Linked DNA regions of Homo sapiens: region 1 is linked to region 2. Evidence: promoter capture Hi-C in human tissues and cell types (Jung and others, 2019). All regions are on one chromosome and are shown on one strand. Each heading gives the region's core, a stretch centred on a gene start or on the middle of the fragment in contact. The rest is flanking DNA. Distances are from core to core; before and after follow the strand shown. Region 1 has its middle 33 kb from the start of POLD3. Region 2 holds the start of CHRDL2 (chordin like 2).

Region 1 (3,194 bases), core at 307-2,806, 170 kb before region 2:
AACACAATCATTCAGTCCATAACAGAGGGCCATGCGACAAAGTATTTTGAGTGGCCTATAGGAGCTGAGAGTGGTCCCCGGCTGATAACCAGCAGGACAATGGTGACCTCAGTCCTACAACCATAAGGAACTGCATTCTGCCAATAACCAGTGAGCCTGAAGGAGAACCCTGAGCCCTATACATGACCAGCACTTTCAGTCCAGCCTGCTGAGATCCTGAGCAGAGAATTGAGTCATGCCCTACGTCGACTTCTGGTATACAGAAGCAGAAATAATAAATTTGTAATAAGTGGCTAAGTTTGTGATAATTGTTTATGCATCAGTATAAAATTGTTTATTATCAATACAAAAATAATATAAATTTTATAATATATATTTTTAAGGAAAAAATACAAAATTACAAATACAAAATCTGTGAGACTAAAGAGGTCTGTAAGTGAGGAACCCTGAAATTTAAGCTTCATTAGTTTCAAGGTAAGTCTGTCTCTGCCTCCAAGAAGGAGAGAAGATGAAGGAAAAAGAGTGTCAACTACAATACGATGTTGCTGTTTTGGGCAGGACAAATGCCCAAAACCAATTCTATCTCTTTGAAAGGCTTTAGGGGAACCTTTAAGGGATCCTCCCTTGGAGCCCCCAACTATACTTCCCTTGAGAAGCAAAGCTTCTCCTCTGGCTTGGCTCCTGAACTTTAGCAGTCCATCTTCTCTGTTGGGGTCCCAGTGCCCTCAGTGCAATTCTTTTGAGGACAGACCTGTTTTAGGAAGATCCTAGGTCAGATCCCTTCTTCCAGGTCTACCTCAGTTCCTAGGAAAAACCTGCTTTTGCCCCATGGCCAGTGGGAGAAGGGTTTGCTCTCAGCCCAACCATCTCTCTCTAGTCCTACAAATTCCATTCAGTCTCTAATATTTAAATTCCTCAAGAATATGTCAAACTCCATATCTTATGATTCCCAAACTTCAGTGCAACATGTCAAGCTCTCTGAGTGGTTTTCTTGAAGTCCCCAGTTTCCTTTGGCTTAAGGAAGGAGGAGAATATGGCTCCCCTCCCCTGTGTACCGATTGTCACCCAGTTATTAACAGAAAGAATAGGGATTCAGGAACCCTGAGCTCTAGTCTGGGTTCTGATACTAACTCACTGTGTGTCCTTGGGAAATGTCCTTTTCCATTTCGGGCCTTGCTTTCCTGACAGCTCACTTAAATGAAAATGTAGGACTAGATCCACTCATTTATTCAGTAAATGTTTATAGAGTCCCTATTACGTGTCAGGAACTGTCTGGGTATGAGGAATCATCAGAAAACAAACTAGCTGACTTCTCAGGCCCTACCAGCCCTCACATTCTCTGATGCTTCTCCCCCACCTAGTTCCCACTCACCCCTCAACAATGAGTGGTCAAGTTCTGGCTGCGATCATGACTGCTTTTCCACCTCAGCAGTGTATAGCCTCTTCTTGCAGGGATATTTATTTATTTATTTATTTATTTCTGACAGGGTCCTGCTCTGTTGGGTGCAGTAATGCGATCAGGGCTCACTACAACCTGGACCTCCTGGGCTCAAGTGATCCTCCTGCTTCAGCCTCCCAAAGTGCTGAGATTATAGGTGTGAGCCGCCATGCCCAGCCCACAGGGACCTTTGATGGGACTAGGGGTAAGCTTCCTTTGAAGGCAGCATTGCTGTTTTGGTTACTGCCCATCAACCTGGGCTGTCTGGCCTGGAAGTACTGCCTGGCCAACGACAATGGAAAGGTTTATTTGCAGAGGCCAGGAAGTCCCCATGACCCCTCTCCATTCACCTCTGAGACAGGAAGCCCCAGGAGGAAAAAACAAAAGATGAAATGCTGGCTGACTTCCCAGCTTCCAAGTGCTCAGCCGCACTCTGGACTGGAGGATCCCTTCTGCCCAGTGGACAGGGACCTCTTTCAGCAGCTCCTTCCTTGTCATTGATCCCCAGGGCTTCAGTTCCTGTCCTGAGGATCCAGAAGGACTTAGGTGACGTAAAAGAGGTATGAAATGAAGATTGAGTCTCTGGGAAAGGATGCATGATGTCTTATCCTAAGCTAAGCCTCCATGTCTGGGAAGTGGGGGGAGGCTGAATGCACAGAGTGGGAAAAATATTCTCAGTGGTTAAGGAAGCAAGTGACTCACCTGCTCTGACCTTCATCCATCCACTCCCATGGCCAGAGTGACTTCAGGGAGGAGGTGGGGTGGAAGAGATTTCCAAGTCTCGTTTTTTTTTTCTTGAGTTTTTTAAGACCTCTTACTTATGATGCCCCTTCCATCCATCACACTTCTCCCAACAGCTTAGCTAACCTGCCTGGAAAAAACAGTCATCAAAAAGCACACAGCATGCTAAGTAGAAAATGAAAAAGCAGGAGGTGCCTCCACTCTTCCAGCAGCTTTTCCACTGGGTTCTGTGCCTAAGGAGTTGCTCCCTCCAGTCCGCAGAGTAGCTGGAATGCATTTTCAAAATTCAACTTTAAAAACTGAAGTGGTCGGGCGCGGTGGCTCACACCTGTAATCCCAGCACTTTGGGAGCTGAGGTGGGTGGATCATCTGAGGAGCTCAAGACCAGCCTGGCCAACATGGTGAAACCCCGTCTCTACAAAAAATACAAAAATTAGCCGGGCGTGGTGGCAAGCACCTATAATCCTAGCTACTCGGGAGGCTGAAGCAGGAGAATCGCTTGAACCCGGGAGGCGGAGTTTGCAGTGAGCTGAGATTGCGCGACTGCACTCCACCCTGGGCAACAAGAGCGAAATTCCATCTCAAAACAAAAAACAAAATCAAAAACAAAACTGAAGTATAACATTCATAGAAAAGTACATAAATCATACGTGTACAGTTCAATAAATTTTGAGAAAGTGCACCTCCATGTAACCAACACTCAGGAGGAGAAATAGAACATGACCAGCAGCTCAGAAGCTCCTTTGTGCCTCCTTCCAGCCACTTCACCCTGCAAAGCTAAATGCTGTCCTGAATTCTAACGTCAAAAATTAGATTTGCCTGTTTTTGAACTGTTAAGTAGAATCACATAGTATGTGTTCTTTTGTGTCCAACTTCTTTTTTTTTTTTTTTTTTTTTTTTGAGACGGAGTCTTGCTCTGTCACCCAGGCTGGAGTGCAGTGGCGCTATCTCGGCTCACTGCAAGCTCTGCCTCCCGGGTTCACGCCATTCTCCTGCCTCAGCCTCCCAAGTAGCT
Region 2 (3,242 bases), core at 48-2,547:
GCGGGGCTGGGATGGTGAAGACGCTGGTCTATCTCACTGTGCCCTGCCGCCTCCCAGAGTCTCACACTGCAAATTCAGGGTTCCTTCTAGACAATGTGAGGCAGGGAATAAAGCATGGGATCTGGAACTAGAGTTCTGGCTTTGGATGGCTTACCCGCTCTGTAAGTTTTAGCAAGTTCCTCCTTGCTCAGCCTAAGTTTTCTCATCTGTAAAGTGCGAATGATAATACCCACCTCACTGGAGAGTTGCGAGGATCAAAAGAGAGAAAAGAATGGGAAGGTTATCCTAATTACCTCTCATTTCTGTCCAATGGCTCTTTCCAAAGGCAAAAAGCCTTTTCTTCTCCATCACACTCCTTACCTGTAGCCAGACATACCCGACTCCCTCCTAGGAACAGTAAGTCCTCCCCCAACCCAAAACACAGTGCCCTGCCCTCTCCCCCCGCTGCCCTTGGTGCCCCTCCTCAGGTCCCTGGCAGCAGCCCTCTCTCAGTTCTGAGTTGTGCCGAGTTCCTCCGGTCCCCCGGCCCATACTGGTCCTCACGGAGTCTCCACCCCTCCGGCACAGGTGCTGCCTGGACGGCTGTCAGAAGAGCTTGGGGTCCAGGTCCTGGCGCTGTCCCTCACATTCCAGGGGCCGCATCCCTCCTCTGCCCACCCAGCCTCCCGGTCTACTTACGGGCTCGAGCGTGGGAGTCCAGGGGGAACCAGAGCAGCGCGAGTCCCAGCAAGGAGGAGAGGACCCTCACCTCGGGAACCATCCTTTCCCCAGGGTCAGGCCGCTGGTCCGGGAGCGGAGTCGGGAGGAAGGGAGACGAAAAGGACACGGAGGCACAGGGGCCACAGATCAACCCACAGACCCCAGGAGGTCTGCTGCTAGAGCGGGGTCGGAGAAGGGCCAGGAAGCAGCGGTGGGCAGGAAAGGAGGGCAGGAAGGGAGGTCTAAGGTGGGAAGAAGAGAAAGGTGGAAAGAGAACGCGGGGAAAGGAGGGAGAGATGGAGAGACGAAGGAAGGTCCAGCAGAAGGGAGAGGCGATCAAAGAAAGGGGGAAGGTGAGAGGGAGAGGAGGAGAAAGCAGGGAGAGGACCGGCGTCTGCCGAGCGCGCAGCGCCGGGCGAGGCGCGCGGGACCAGCGGGTGTTGCGGGCGCGCGGGCTAGAGGCGGCCGGCGCCCCCTGCTCGGTGGGCTCGGGGTCGGGCCGCGGGGGCCTGGGGCCCGGCGGGGCGGCGGTCCCAGCAGCGGCGGCGGCGCGGCGGCCGCGGAGGGAGGCTGAGCGCGGGCCGGCTGTGCTCGCCAAGGGCTTCAGGCGCCGCGCTCGGGCGCATTTGTACTTTGCCGCGGGAAGCAGGCAGCCCGGCCTGGCGCTGGCCTAGCGCTGGCGCCTCCTCTGGGGCACCGCGGGCTCGGTGGATTGGCCACCCGAGAAACAGGCCCACTTTTTCCCCTCCTCTCTTGTGCGGGTCTCCGGGACGGACGCTCCAGGCGCGGCGCCGAGTGGAGGCGAGGGGGCTGCGGAGGGGGAAGGGGCCACGCGGGCCACGGGGTTTAACCCCTGACTCCCCGCGACGCCAAGAATGCAGGAGGGCAGAGTTGAGGGAGACCTCAGGTGGAACTTTCAGGTGGGGAAGGCTGAGCTGTCGGGGCTGCGGGTACCGGGAAGGCTCAGGGTAAGGCGCTCGGCGGTGCGTGCCCGGAACTCCGCAGATGGATGGAATCAGAACACTGGCGTTCTTAATTCAGTTTGTGGTCTACAGCACGCCACCGGAGAGTCTGTTTTCCCAGCTTTAAAATGGGCATTTTAAGATCTTAAAATATCTCTACTATCTTCCCACGAGTGTTGCTAAGATGAAATAAGGTAATGAACGTCGAAACACTCACCCCACAAAGAGAAGGGGTCCTAATTCCAGGTGCCTACAATACCAGTGGCCCCTGTCCCCACTCCGTCTGCCCATGCGCCATTCTCAGGAAAGTCAGCCCATAGGGATCCTGTGCCTTCCCCTGGAGGTCTTCCTCTGCTCCCCGCTCCCACTCCCGAATCAAGGCAAGATCTCTCCTTTGCCTTTGCAGGTGAGGCCTGCACTTCTCTGGGAGTGATGGTCACCTTCAGTCATCTTTAGGGAGAGCTGATTGTCAAAGAGTTTTCTTTCCCACCAGAAGGGGAGCTCCCTGAGGACAGGGCCCTGACACCCTCCAGCCCTCAAATGGTGCTCCATCTCTTGTGTTGAATGAACACATGCACTAATAGGACACTAAGAAGAGAATAGCCAGCTCTGGCCAGACCAGAAACACACAAGCTCTGAAATCAAAAGGGCAGAGTCACTGTCCTGGCTCCATCCGTAACTTGTTGGGCCACTTTGAGTAAATACATCTATCCTTGCTTTGGACCTCAACTTTCTGCCCAGCTTCTCTTGAAGAGCTAATGGAGACTCCAAAGAGTGCCAGAGGAGTATGAGGTGGGAAGGGATGTTGAGCCATATCCCACTCTGGTAGGGAATCATATTTCCGGGTTTAAACACTTGGCTGGCTGGCTGTAAAGGTATCTTTCTGGGCCAAGGCTGGGCTCCCCATTGCACTGTGCTTTCAGGGTATTACCCCCAAGATCTCCACCCTCCAAAAGAGAGCAGTAGGAGGAACCAGTGATCCCCAAACTGGCCCTTCCTAGGGCTCTCAGGATCAGGGACAAACATGATCTGTCCAGTGCCCTTCAGGCTTAATTTCTACTCTAATCTGGCCAGTCTCTTCCTTTCCCCTGAGTATTCTTTATTTTAACAGATAGTGCAAGCTTATGCATGTCACCATGCTTCCCTTTTTGCCTTTGCTTCCAGGGATCTCAGAGTTAAATCCTGTGCTGCTTAATTGCATAAACAATCTCATCCCAAGGGTTTGGGACAGTGATCTTTTCCTTTCTCTTTGTTTAAAATGTGCTGTGCACATATATTCATGTCTTAGATGTAAGAAGTGGATTAAGATGGGTTCCCCTACATCCTGCCCATCATACTTCAAAAAAGGCCTCCACCATCTCAGCCCTCCTGTCCATCCCTATTATCCCCAGAGTTGAGGCCAACTTCATTCCTTTTTTTTTTTTTTTTGAGATGGAGTTTTGCGCTTGTCGCCCAGGCTGGAGTGCAGTGGCGTGATCTGGGCTCACTGCAACCTCTGCCTCTGGGTTCAAGCGATTCTTCTGCCTCAGCCTCCCGAGTAGCTGGGATTACAGGCATGCACCACCTATAATTTTTGTATTT

The links. The method cuts DNA at HindIII sites, captures the fragments that hold promoters and counts their contacts. A contact is called where the count stands out against the background at its distance.
Region 1: a fragment that was not itself captured here is called in contact with the fragment with the promoter of CHRDL2 in region 2 in 2 of the 25 tissues and cell types used here (heart left ventricle and thymus).

What each region holds. Positions count from the first base shown.
Region 1 is chr11:74,557,992-74,561,185 of GRCh38, forward strand. No RefSeq gene overlaps it. Among named protein-coding and RNA genes, the nearest start is that of POLD3, 33 kb to the right of the region's middle. The HindIII fragment of the contact is 3,664 bases long and covers 1-3,194 here.
Region 2 is chr11:74,730,129-74,733,370 of GRCh38, forward strand. CHRDL2 (chordin like 2) reads right to left here and starts at 1,298. Exons shown (of 11, transcript NM_001278473.3): 1 at 679-1,298. The coding sequence starts at 760. The HindIII fragment of the contact is 7,141 bases long and covers 1-3,242 here.